4 separate regions of the Homo sapiens genome follow, and all the other regions are linked to region 3. Evidence: promoter capture Hi-C in human tissues and cell types (Jung and others, 2019). All regions are on one chromosome and are shown on one strand. Each heading gives the region's core, a stretch centred on a gene start or on the middle of the fragment in contact. The rest is flanking DNA. Distances are from core to core; before and after follow the strand shown.

The links. Contacts are between HindIII fragments. The study calls those that stand out against the background at their distance.
Region 1: a fragment that was not itself captured here is called in contact with the fragment with the promoter of CDKN2AIPNL in region 3 in 1 of the 25 tissues and cell types used here (small bowel).
Region 2: a contact is called between a fragment that was not itself captured here and the fragment with the promoter of CDKN2AIPNL in region 3, in 1 of the 25 tissues and cell types used here (heart right ventricle).
Region 4: a fragment that was not itself captured here is called in contact with the fragment with the promoter of CDKN2AIPNL in region 3 in 2 of the 25 tissues and cell types used here (hippocampus and small bowel).

The regions. Positions count from the first base shown.
Region 1 is chr5:134,242,171-134,245,412 of GRCh38, reverse strand. No RefSeq gene overlaps it. Among named protein-coding and RNA genes, the nearest start is that of PPP2CA-DT, 17 kb to the right of the region's middle. The HindIII fragment of the contact is 9,275 bases long and covers 1-3,242 here.
Region 2 is chr5:134,193,641-134,197,090 of GRCh38, reverse strand. PPP2CA (protein phosphatase 2 catalytic subunit alpha) reads left to right here. Exons shown (of 7, transcript NM_002715.4): 7 at 1-2,759. Among named protein-coding and RNA genes, the nearest start is that of SKP1, 18 kb to the right of the region's middle. The HindIII fragment of the contact is 4,633 bases long and covers 1-3,450 here.
Region 3 is chr5:134,410,182-134,413,315 of GRCh38, reverse strand. CDKN2AIPNL (CDKN2A interacting protein N-terminal like) reads left to right here and starts at 1,435. Exons shown (of 3, transcript NM_080656.3): 1 at 1,435-1,700. The coding sequence starts at 1,462. RefSeq lists enhancers at 567-1,304, 1,292-1,781, 1,305-2,043. The HindIII fragment of the contact is 17,979 bases long and covers 1-2,875 here.
Region 4 is chr5:134,213,381-134,216,913 of GRCh38, reverse strand. All of the region lies in intron 1 of PPP2CA (protein phosphatase 2 catalytic subunit alpha), which reads left to right. Among named protein-coding and RNA genes, the nearest start is that of MIR3661, 11 kb to the left of the region's middle. The HindIII fragment of the contact is 5,715 bases long and covers 1-3,533 here.

The DNA of each region.
Region 1 (3,242 bases), core at 495-2,994, 170 kb after region 3:
GGAGCCACTATTGTTCGTATAAGGTACAACTGCCTTGCTGACACTGTGCATACAGCACACACCCAGAGAAAGAGAGAGAGCCAAAGCTCTCCATCTAGTAGATGGACAGAGGGGAGCCAGGGCTCGGCTTGACTTGTGCCCAGAGAGAGAAAGAGTTAAGCTGCTGACCCCATAGGGAGAGCTGGCTGTGCAGCTGTGTGTGGGAGCGGCAGGAGCCGCAGAGCCAGAGCAAGCAGCCAAGACAGAGACAGACGGTGTAAGAGAGCCGCTGAATAAAACCATACTTCATCTGCCTGCAGCCCTCTGAGTGTTCTTTCAGCTATCTGCCACCCATCCACCCACTGCCTTCGGACCTCAGCATGGACCAGAACCTGACCCTGGGCATGACAACACTTCACATGAATGCATACATACAAACCAAAAAAAAAAAAAATATATATATATATATATATATATATATATATATGTATATATTTGCACCATTGCACTCCAGCCTTGGCGACAAAAGCAAAACTCCGTCTAAAAAAAAAAATAAAAGAAAAGTAAGGGGCTTTGGATGGACTGATCATAGTATAATGAGCCATGAACTGAAAAGTGCGATTAACTTAATACTCTATACCTGAGCCCTAATAATTTCTTTTTTTTCTTAAGTGCTCTGGGCCTTGCCATTTGACGTTTTCCTCGACCCAGCTGTTGACCACTAGCATGGCTTTAACAGCATGATCATAGCTTTTTAATAATCTTATTGACAGAAATTTACACCTGGATTCTGTGAGCTGTCTTATAACACGCTGACCTTTATCAAACTCAGGGATATATGATGCTGTCTTGCTCTTTTGCTATCTTGCTCTTTTTTTTTTTTTTTAAGAGACACAGGTCTCACTATGTTGCCCAAGCTCGAATGCAGTGGCTATTCACAGGCACAATCATTGCACACTACAGTCTCAAACTCCTGGGCTCAAGTGATCCCCCCGTTTCAGCCTCCTCAGTAGCTAGCACTACTAGCTGAACGCCACTGTGCTGGCTTTTCCAGCTCTTTAAAATATTTGAAAGTTACCTCGTTTTATCTGTAGTTTTTTAAAGTTTCCTGATGCCCATAAACAGAAATGAAACCATGTACTTTCTTGGGGATCTAACTAAAATGCAAAAGCTATGTTAATGAGGAATAAGCACCACAAAGAATAAAAGAAAACCCCTAATTCTGTTTGGGCTGGTTTCCTAGAAATCCTGTGCCCACTTTTTGCATCGAGCCAAGGCTGGCAATATGTGGATAGGGCTAGTCCCTCAGGCATTGAGATACAGTGCCTCAGCTTCTTCAAAGATAGGTCTAGAACATTCTAGACCAATGCAATCAAAAAGTACCTGGTGGAGCCAGGCATGGTGGCTCAAGCCTGTAATCCCAGCACTTTGGGAGGCTGAGGAAGGAGGATTGCTTGAGCCCAGGAGTTCAAGACCAGCCTGGGTAACACAATGTCACTACAAAAATTTTAAAATTAGCCTGGCATGGTGGCACACACCTGTAGTCCTCGCCACTTGGGAGCCTGAGGTGGGAGGAGCAGTCGAGCCCAGGAGTTCAAGGCTGCAGTGAGCTATGATTGTGCCACTACACACCAGCCTGGGTGACGGAGTGAGACCCTAACTCTAAAACAAAATAAATAAATAAAAAGTACCTGGTGCTAAAAATTACACCATTTTAGGGCCAGGCGTGGTGGCTTACGCCTGTAATCCCAGCACATTGGGAGGCCGAGGCAGGTGGATCACCTGAGGTCAGGAGTTGGAGACCAGTCTGACCAAAAAGTTGAAACCCCAACTCTACTAAAAATACAAAAATTAGCTGGGTGTGATGGCAGGCACCTGTAGTCCCAGCTACTTGGGAGGCTGAGACAGGAGAATCGCTTGAACCTGGGAGGCGGAGGTTGCAGTGAGCCAAGATCATGCCACTGCACTCCAGCCTGGGCAACAGAGCAAGACTCTGTCTCAAAAAAAAAAAAAAAAAAAAGTTACACAATTTTAAAACAACATTTGAGTCAACCCAGCATCATTTTTGAGATACTCTAAGATATTTCTTGGCCTACTTGTGTGTGCCTCTTAAGCTGAAACAAGCCCTAGTATTCTCTAAAGTAGCATGTGTTCCATAGATACCCAATAATTTCAAGTTAGGTTAAATGACCTTTTACCATCCATGTGAGGACTCCTCTTGCCTATATGGTATCTATGCATATTAGAAAAGGTGCTTCTTCATCCTGGAGATGCAGTCCCACAGTAAGGCACAGGTGTGGCAAGTAGAGCTGGATTCATCTCAGCTCGTCTCCTTGGCTGTTCATGGCACAGTATGTACAACTGTAGGATATGGCCCTGCAAACAAACTCCACCCTTTCTCTCTTCCACCAGGCTTCCATTGTTTGCAACATCTTTCCTGGCTGGTGGAGGAAAGGCAGGCTCAACTGATGGTCCTAATCTCCAATGGGGGCAATAATATTGCCCACCCTACGTGCTCTTTTGGAACTTTGCTACTCTAAAGGTAGAGTCTGATTCCACTCTCTTTGAGTCTGGGGAAGCTTGTGACTTGTACCCAACAGAAGACAGCAAAACTAACACTCTGTGATTTCTGAGGTTAGGTTATAAAAAGTGATACAGCAGCCAGGCACGGTGGCTCACACCTGTAATCCCAGCACTTTGGGAGGTCGAGGTGGGTGGATCACCTGAGGTCAGGAGTTCGAGACCAGCCTGGCCAACATGGTGAAACCCTGTCTCTACTAAAAATACAAAAAATTAGCTGGGCGTGGTGGTGCATGCCTATAATCCCAGCTACTCGGGAGGCTGAGGCAGAAGAATCACTTGAACCTGGGAGGCGGAGGTTGCAGTGAGCCGAGATGGTGCCACTGCACTCCAGCCCGAGTGACAGAGTAAGACTCCATCTCAAAAAGGAAAGTGATACAGCATCCACCTTGTGGCTGGAACACTTGCATTTGTAGACCTAAGCTGCTATGTAAGAAGTTTAACTTGCCATTCTGTGAGAAAGCCAAGGCACAGAGAGAGGCCATGTGTAGGCGCTGTGGTCAGCAGTCCTAGTTTTTGAATGCGTCAGGCCCAGCCACTGACACGTGAGTAAACAAGACTTCAGCTGCTTCTAGCTCCCAGTTGTGAAGTCATCCTCAGGCTGAATCTTCCCAGCTGAGTCCCTAGACAGCTTGGAGCTGAGAGAAGCCATCCCCAACTGGGTCCTTTCTGAATTCCTGACC
Region 2 (3,450 bases), core at 299-2,798, 220 kb after region 3:
AGAAGGTCAAATTTTAATTGTATCAATGGGCAAGACTGGTGCTGTTTATTAAAAAAGTTAAATCAATTGAGTAAATTTTAGAATTTGTAGACTTGTAGGTAAAATAAAAATCAAGGGCACTACATAACCTCTCTGGTAACTCCTTGACATTCTTCAGATTAACTTCAGGATTTATTTGTATTTCACATATTACAATTTGTCACATTGTTGGTGTGCACTTTGTGGGTTCTTCCTGCATATTAACTTGTTTGTAAGAAAGGAAATCTGTGCTGCTTCAGTAAGACTTAATTGTAAAACCATATAACTTGAGATTTAAGTCTTTGGGTTTTGTTTTAATAAAACAGCATGTTTTCAGGTAGAGCTTAAACTAAATGATGTGTTTACTTAGTGCAGTTTCTGGTTATGAATATTATATTGCTATGTGTATATTATATGGACTCTTTAAAATGATTGACAGATTGGCAAATTCTTAAATCTTTGTACATTGTTGAGTCATATGTTCTTAGAGTTAAATTTGTCTCAGATAAGAAAGTGTTAAAGCATTAGCCTGTGTCAAGTTCTTTGAGTGATACTAGTGAAACCAAATAGAAAACTATTGTTGGATCATGATTTAGTCTTATGTACATTCACCCGAAGACAAAAATGGTACTTAAAGTGGCAGTGTTCAACATTTAATGAGTTTTTCCCCTTTTATCCTTCGAATAGGATTAGATGTTTAAAAAAAAGTTCTTCTGTGGGAACTAATATTTGATATTTTAACCTACCAGAGTAAACAGGAACACTTAATCATACTTGTGAGTGTAGTAAATAAAAGTTTTCTTGCTTTGTGCTGTGTTGAATCTGGAACCAACAGGGAAGTTATAGCATATCCCCTTTCTAAAATGCTTGAGGAACACATACATACCGAATGTCTTTTCTGATCTAATTGATAGTATTTTTAGTGGCTTGTGGAGTTAATTTTCCAAAGCAAAAGGCCATTAGGGTTTCTACATTTCATTTCATTTCATTCTTTTCTTTCACAAGAAATACATTCTCTGTGTGTCTTTTTGTTGCTCTGTCACTCTATGCCCTTTCTCTCCGACTGAACAAATAGCTTATCCATGTGCAGTGGTTTTAATACCCAAACAATCTAGACACCAAGCAGCTATTTTTTCCGGTCCTGTGATATCAGAATTGACCAAGGAATACGTATATTGTAATTGACACGTGGTGGTATCTTCCAGGTACAAATTCTCTAAATTTTGTGGTTAGCAGAATGGGACTTGTGATAAGAATAGCTTGGTTTTAGCATAACTAGGGTTTAAAATAATTGTTTAATTATAGAGACTGACCGGGCTTTGGCCATCTAAACTGGAAAGTGTTAGTACCCTACCTTCTTTTGAAAATGGCTATGGTAAGGAAAATGTGTTAGTAAATTATGTATTTTCTTGAAAAATACATAATTATGGTTGGATGGGAATCACTAAGTTGGGTGTTAACTGATGTCTCAATTAGTAACATTAGGATTTTCATTAATAAACCTAAAAAGCTTTCCCTAAGAACAGGCCTGGCACAGTGGCTCATGCCTGTAATCCCAGCACTTTGGGAGACCAGGGTGGGTGGATCCCTTGAGGTCAGGAGTTGAAGAGCAGCCTGGCCAACATGGCAAAACCCCATCTCTACAAAAAATATGAAAATCAGCCGGGCTTGGTGGCATACCATAGTCCCAGCTACTTGGGAGGCTGAGGTGAGAGGATCGCCTGAGCCCAGGAGATGGAGGTTGCAGTGGGCTGAGATTGTGCCACTGTACTCCAGTCTGGGTGACAGAGCCAGACCCTGTCTCAAAAATAAAGAGGATTCTGAGTTTGTATAGTGAGGGCTTGCAGAAATTTTGAAACTTATTTTGTAAGTTTACAATGAATTTGTACATGATGTGCTCATGTCTTGGGTTGAGTATCCTAGACATGATTTTTTCATTTGCTGCATATTAAACATTTGTTGGTTGTAGTCGGTATTTCTTAAATAGAAGTTTGTCAATATTAGATTAGTTTCAAGAAGGACTTAGCTCAGGAAAAGGATAGTTATTTCTGTGGTTCTCAGCTTTGATGCCTACAGAGATTCTGATTTAAATTGCTGGAGGAGGGCCCAGGCATACATTTTTTAAGTTTCCCAAGTGATTCTAATTTACATCTAGGGTTAAAAACAGCCAGGCGCGGTGGCTCATGCCTGTAATCCCAGCACTTGGGGAGGCCGGGGTGGGTGGATCACCTGATGTCAGGAGATCGAGACCAGCCTGGCCAGCGTGGTGAAACCCCATCTCTATTAAAAATACAAAACTGACCGGTGTGGTGGCAGGAGCCTGTAATCCCAGCTACTTGGGAGGCTGAGGCAGGAGAATCACTTGAACTCAGGAGGAGGAGGTTACAGTGAGCCCAGATCGTGCCATTGCACTCCAGCCTGGGCAAAAAGAGCAAAACTCCATCTCAAAAAACAAAAACACCTCACTGCTGTTTCCTAAGTACATACTTAAGAAAATTGGGATACATGGTGGTGGTTCATGGATGTTGATAAGGAATTAAAATGTACCGTGCGACTCTCTGTTTCAGTGGTGACTTTTACCTGTTTAGTATAAATATTCCTTTGCTTCCAACCATAAATGTGTTCTTAGAAATGGGCCTATAGTTTAGTAACCTATAGTTTGGTAATAGGCTTGTTTGTTTTCAGATGGATTTTGGTTCTGTGAGCTAAAGCTATTTTGCATTAAAGCCTTCGTCCTCACACATTGTTTTGACATATTTCTAGTCTTCATAAACTTTTTTAATTTAGATTTTTTTCCCTTCACAAGTATACATCTGTTTTAGCAAATAGCCTTATGAAGGTTGTAGATGTATTATTTTGGGCATGCCTGGTGATTTCTATATTTTTTCCAATTACATTTAAAGCTTTATGTTTTAGGAATATAAGTACATTTTATTTCTACTTTTTATTATATATATTTAATTGCACAAGTACTACTGTCTAGAAAAAAATGGGATGTTGCTAACACAGCATTGTTGGCTTGTAGGCAGTGCTGTCCTGTAAATAGATTGAAATGTATTTTTATCAGCTGGTATATAAATTTGAGGAAAGAAAAATGTGGACTGTGTTTGAATTGTTTAAAAGTTGAACATACAAAGATCAGTGGTAACCAAGTAAGTGATATAGGCAACAGACCCCAGTTTGTTTTGTATTTGCTGTCATGCCTGGACCAGAATTCCTCATTCCCAAGAGTGAAAGAGGAAATAATTATAGCTAATGAGTGAATGCTGGAAAAAGTCACACTTTTTTGTTTTTTAAGGAAAAGCACAAACCCTCATGTCTGAGGTTGAATTTAATTAAGTGCAGTCGGCCCTCCATAGTCAAGGGTTCCACATCTGAGAATTCAGCCAACCATGGACTGAAAATATTTTTGGGAAAAGGAACCAATAAAAA
Region 3 (3,134 bases), core at 186-2,685:
GTTCTGGACTAAATTTAGGCAGATAAGGGAACAACTTCATCTTGTGCTTTGGGAGGAACAAAGAATTGACAGACAGGAGTGTGTGTTGGTGGCGGAGGTCACAGAGACCTTGAGGCTTCTTCATCAGTTCAGCATGTCAAAATACATTTTGGGGTGTTGGTTTCTGAGCCCCAACACCCAGTTACTGTAGTTGAATGCTTCCAGGGATGGAAAATTCACCACTTAAAAGGAAGCTCTTTTTTCTCTCAGTGTGTCTGCTACCTGAGACTCGAACAGACAGCAGAGTCATGCCAGCTAAATAAAAACTTTCAGGTCCAGCCAGTTACGATGGCTCATACCTGTAATCCCAGCATTTTGGGAGGCTGAGGGAGACGGATCACTTGAGCTCAGGAGTTCGAGACCAGCCTGGGCAACATGGCGAAACCCTGTCTCTATTTAAAACCAAGTCCAAACTTGCTCATTTCCTCTGGACACATTGTTTCTGGCTCCTTCCAGCATCTTTTGTAAACACAGGTGTCACTGTTCTGGTTAAAATCCTTCAGCGGCTCCCCATTCTTGGGATCTAGCCAGGATCCCTGCCTGGCCTACTGGCCTTGCTGACCTCTGCAACTTCATCTTCTCCATTCTCTACCTGCCCTGCCCCGCCCCCCAACCCCTCCTACCCCCTATCTTGCAATTCTCTTACCAGGCCATGCTCTCTCTTGCTTTGACCGACTCCCCTTTACTCAGAAAACTGCTCATTCTTCACTTCTCCAGGATCACTTCCCTGACCCCAAGACTAGATTGGGTCCCTTGCTTATTCATGGTTGTAGCACGCTGAACTTCTCTTTACTAATACTTGTCAACGCTGAAATTCTCCATTTACTTGAGCAATTATGTCACTAATGTCCACTCCTCCACTCCATGGTAAAGTTCAGGCGAGCAGGGCTCCGAATGTGCTCTCATTGCCTCTCCAGCACCTAGCAATGTGCCTGGCAAGTATTCACGGGATGGATGGATTACTCGCTCCAGGAAGGCGGGCCCCAACCTTCGTGGCTGTGGAGACCCCTGGAAGTCGACCGTGACCCGGGCCCCCTGATGTCGCTCAGGATGAGGCGGTGCCCGGGAAACTCTCAGGGCAAGGGCACAGCATAGCTCTGGCTGGCATCCAGCTGCCAACTGGAAGAGGGCGCTCCGAATCTGTGTTTAGGGACCTCAGTTTTCCCACCGGTTCCCCGCAGGGTCGACCGCAAAAGACCCTTGTAGCCCTGGGTAGACCCAGGGCAGGAGCCACGGGCTGCGGCGGTCTGAGGAGCCAGGAGCCGCTCTGTGCCCCCGCAGGCCGCCGCTCCGGGCGAGGGCGCTCCAGGTTGGTCTTCTGGAGCAGTCGTGCGCTGATGGGGCCCCTCTGGCCGGCAGGCGGTGGCGCAGTGCGCGTCGGGAAGGCGGCGGGCTATCCGGTCCTCGGCTGCGGCGGGCACCATGGTCGGTGGCGAGGCGGCTGCCGCAGTGGAGGAGCTGGTTTCGGGGGTGCGGCAGGCGGCCGACTTCGCGGAGCAGTTCCGCTCCTACTCAGAGAGCGAGAAGCAATGGAAGGCCCGCATGGAATTCATCCTGCGCCACCTGCCCGACTACCGCGACCCGCCCGACGGCAGTGGCCGCCTGGACCAGCTGCTCTCCCTCTCCATGGTCTGGGCCAACCATCTCTTCCTAGGCTGCAGGTGCGGACCCCTGCCGGCCGGCTGATCCTGTCCCCTATCTTCCGACCCTCAAGGCCTCTCCCAGGGCTCACCCCTGACCCGAACCTCTGCCCCAGACTGAACCCGGGCCCAACCTCCATCCGCATTGGTCGGCCCGAAGACTGATTCCCACCCTGGAGGCCCCTTGGAAAGATCCTTATCTTTGAGCCTCAGTTTTCTCTTCTGGTAAAAGGGTGGTTATGATGGCTGTAATAATTAAAGGGTGAAGAGCTAAATACATGGCGGGTTCAAAGGTTGCTATTGTTATTTGTATTACTATTATTATTAGCTCAAACCATCACCTTTGCAGTATGCATTCGAAGTCCGTTAGCCCCTGTCACCTACATGGCAAACGTGCAGAGAGAGAAACGGAGATCCCCATTTTACAGATGAAAAAGCTTAGGGAGAGAAGTGATATACCTGGGGCCATGCAGCTTCTGGCAGGATTGATGGATTTTAATCACTAATGAGAGGATGTAATCTGTATCCTATGGCTTTTTCTCCTCACTCCACAGCCCACGGGGTCCTAAGTAGGAACCAGCTTCACCTCTCTGCTTTCCCTCTTATGAAAATGGCCGATGCCTTTTTGTGAAGGTCTCAAAGCCCACTTCATCCTGGCTGCAGCACCAAAAGGACAAAGGCCCGCTTTTGAAGTGCCTGATAAGGCATTCCTTTCACCCCTCCATGAGGAAGGTGGCAAATCTTGAGACTCCCTATTAGAGAGCTTCGATTTTCCTGAAATTGTGTTAGGAAAATAGGGTGACTTGGTTTGATCTTGGTTTCTATACCTATTATGGCTGCCTGACTCTGGTCATTTGGCCCCTGCAGGCCTAAGCCACTTGGTTTTGCTTCACATATTGGGGTTTATTAGAACAGTACGTAGGGAAGCAATGCCAGAGGCACCCGTCCCTTTTCCCTGCCTTCTAGGTGCTCCTGGGAAATCCTGGTTTTCCATGGTTAGGCAAATGTCAGAGAATTGGGGAAATAAATAATGTTTTTGTTAGACTAACATTCCATGTATTTAAAAAATAAAAATATTTTGGTCCTCATCCTGTATCTGAGAATATCTGTTGCTGGATGTACAGTGCCTCTGTTCTTCTAAATCTTGAAACATCTGCTGTACTGGTATTTCTGAAGTCCACTTCTGTATCTACAAGCAAGAAGTGTTCACAGGGCCAGGCACGGTGTCTCACGCCAGTAATCCTAGCACTTTGGGAGGAGGATCACTTGAGGTCAGGAGTTGGAGACCAGCCTGGCCAACATGGTGAAACCCTGTCTCTACTAAAAATAAAAAATTAGCCAGGCGTGGTGGCACACGCCTGTAATCCCAGCTACTCGGGAGGCTGAGGCAGGAGAATTGCTTGAACCTGGGAGGTGGAGGTTGCAGTGAGCCGAGATCACACCACTGCACTCCAA
Region 4 (3,533 bases), core at 227-2,726, 200 kb after region 3:
AGAGGTTATTTGTGTCTGATTTTGAGTTTGATGCTACAGAGAAGACAGGTTAGGCCTGCATTGACGTTTTTCATCAAGGGCAGAATTGATGATACAGAAACTTGATTTCTGTCTAGGCATGGTGGCTCATACCTACAATCCTGGTGCTTTGGGAGGCGGAGGCTGGAAGCTCACTCGAGACTAGGAGTTTGAGACCAGCTTGGGCAATGTAGTGAGACCACCGTTTCTACAAAACAAAAAACAGGTTTCTTTAGTTAAGTATAAATCATTGATCTGTGATTAATCCAAACACTTTTTCCTCAGTATAGACCTTGGGGTTCTTCGGTGTTTGACTACCTTCTTTTGAAGGAAACCACTTTTTTTTTTTTTTTTTTTTGAGGCAGTCTCACTCTGTTGCCCAGGCTGGAATGCAGTGGCACAATCTCAGCCCACTGCAACCTCCGCCTCATGGGTTCAAGTGATTCTCCAGCTTCAGCCTCCTGAGTAGCTGGCATTACAGGCATGCACCACCATGCCCAGCTAATTTTTGTATTTTTAGTAGGGGAGGGGGTGTTTCGCCATGTTGCCCAGGCTGTTCTCAAACTCCTGACCTCAAGCGATCCACCCACCCTGGCCTCCCGAAGTGCTGGGATTACAGGCATGATCCACCGTGCCCACCCGAAACCACTTGTAATATACCTTTAGGAGAATGCTTTTAGTTACATCATGATCCCTTTCATGTAGCTAACAACAAAAATGAATATTAACCCCAAATATTGGAACTCGTATTTTGAAGCAAGTTATTTCTTGGTATACTTTAGTGCCAGAATTGGTACTGTTATGTGATTAACTGTTTTTGAGACTAAGAAAATATTTTGCTGGACATCTGATGAAATTATCTTAAAAACAGTGCTTGGGTGTTTTCCCTGGAGTGTAGTGGCAAGAGTACTCTGTTGTCCATCAGAGCCACTTGCTGCTCTCAGCTGGCCTTGCTGTTGAATGGCATAATCTGATTTCGTTGGAGTACCCAAGTCCTAAGATTTGAAGAATAAGGGTTATTATCTCAGTCTCATCTTTTCTCTGAGATAGCATTTGTTCAGGAAATGTTATCTGTTTTCAATGGTGAAGGGAGTGAGAGTCTGCTTAGGAGTTACTGTATACATTAAACATTGGTGACCGGACTTTAAAGAATTAGAGGCTAGGCCTGGTGACTTACACCTATAATCCCAGCAGATTGGGAGGCCAGGGCAGGAGGATATCTTGAGCCCGGGAGTTCAAGACCAGCCTAGGCAGCATAGTGAGACCCTGTCTCTACAACAAAATTTTTACTTTTTTATTTTTATTTTTATTTTTATTTTTTGAGATGGAGTTTTGCTCTGTCACCCAGGCTGGAGTGCAGTGGCATGATCTTGGCTCACTGCAACCTCCACCTCCTGGGTTCAAGCGATTCTCCTGCCTCAGCCTCCTGAGTAGCTGGGACCACAGGCGAGGGCTACCATGCCCAGAATATTTTTGTATTTTTTTTTTGGTAGAGATGGGGTTTCACCACTTTGGCCAGGCTGGTCTTGAACTCCTGACCTCAAGTGATCCACCTGCCTCGGCCTCCCGAAGTGCTGGGATTACAGGCGTGAGCCACTGCACCCAGCCCTACGAATAATTTTTAAAAATAAATTAGTTGGGTGTGGTGGCACACCTGTGGTTCTAGCTACTCTGTGAGGCTGAGGCAAGAGGATTGCTTGGGTCCAGGAGATCTAGACTGCAATGAGCTGTGATCATGCTACAGCACTCGAAGCCTGGGGAACAGAGCAAGAACTTGTCTCAAAAAAAAAAAAAAAAAGTAAATAAATATTAGACACTTCTCAAGCCCTAGGTCCCAATTGATTGATTTTTTTTTTCTTGGATGCAGGATTCCAAAATACTTCAAGGTCATTATTAAACATTTAAAGTTAATGTCATAATGTTAACGATGCAAGTTTAAGATGCTGATATAAAAAGAAGCTTGAGTAGTTGTCGTGTAATCTTAGGATTAAAGTATAGATTTTAAAATGAAAAACTCTTAGAAAATGGCAAGACGTGATAACTTTTCTTAATAATTGTAGGAGAAAAATTACAAAGCAAAAATGGGCATAGAAAATTTCTGGCTATATATTTAAAAAATAAGAGAAACAAAATGCCAAAAAGTTACTTAAAATAACAGTTTAAAATAGTTTATACAAATACTTCAGAACATCATCTAGCTCTTAATGATCAGATGTTCAAAAATATTCATGGACAACTTGTATAAGAGGAGAAATAACTGATGGTAAATAAACATGGAATAAAAAGTTTGTACTCAGAAATGAAAAATGCCAATTAAATTAGTGATACCACATTGTATATCTGAAATAGCTGAGAATGAGTATATTCTTTCATTTATTATTGTATAACAAATTGGCATAATTGAGTTTTATAGTACATATGAAACAAAAAAAGTTAATGCTATTTTGCCCTGTAATCCCACAATTAAAGCTTTTTGAAAGGAAATAATTCAAATGAGCAATAATACTGTACACGTATAGGTCTATTTAGAAGGGCATTATGTAGTTTTAAAAAATCACTATAATGTAGAAACGAGTTAGTATGAAACTTTAGGACACAAAATGAGATGCCAGTCAATTATAAGTAAGAGGTCTGTGTGGGTAAAAACTGAAAGGTAATAGAAATGAGAAGAGTTCTGGTTGGTAAGAATAAGATAGTTATATATCTTAAAGCTTTCAGTGAAATCTTAACCTTTTAATTTTTTTTTTAGCCTTTTTTTGTTAGTTTTGAGAGAGAGTCTTACTGTGTTGCATAGGCTGGAGTGCAGTGGCACGATCTCAGCTCACTGCAACCTCTGCCTCCTGGGTTCCAATAATTCTCATGCCACAGCCTCCCAAGTAGCTGGGATTACAGGCCTGTGCCATCTTACCTGGCTGATTTTTGTATTTTTAGTAGAGATGGGGTTTTACCGTGTTGGCCAGGCTGGTCCCAAACTCTTGACCTAAAGTCATCCACCTGCTTTGGCTCCCAAAGTGATAGAATTACAGGCGTGAGCCACTGTGCCTGGGCTTTTCAGCCTTTTTTTAATGCAAAGAATTGTGACATGGTTGTAATCATTTTGTGCTTTTATTTATTTATTTTGAGATGGTGTTGTTGCCCAGGCTGAAGTACAGTGACATCATCATAGTTCACTGGAACCTTGAACTCCTGGGCTCAAGTGATTCTTCTGCCTTAGCCTCCTTAGCAGCTGGGACCACAGAGTGCACCACCATGCCTAGCTAATTTTTATTTTTCGTAGAGACAGGGTCTCGCCACATTGCCCAGGCTGATCTTGAACTCCTGAGCTCAAGCAATCCTCCTGCCACAGCCTTCCAAGTAGCTGGTACTACAGGTGTGTACCACTATGCCCAGCTAATATTTTAATTTTTTTGTAGAGATGGGGTTTTGGTGTGTTGCCCAGGCTGAGCAGTAATATTTTGAAAGGAATCTTTTTTTTTTTTCTGAGCAGTAGGTCTCAGTAATGCACTTAAAATATT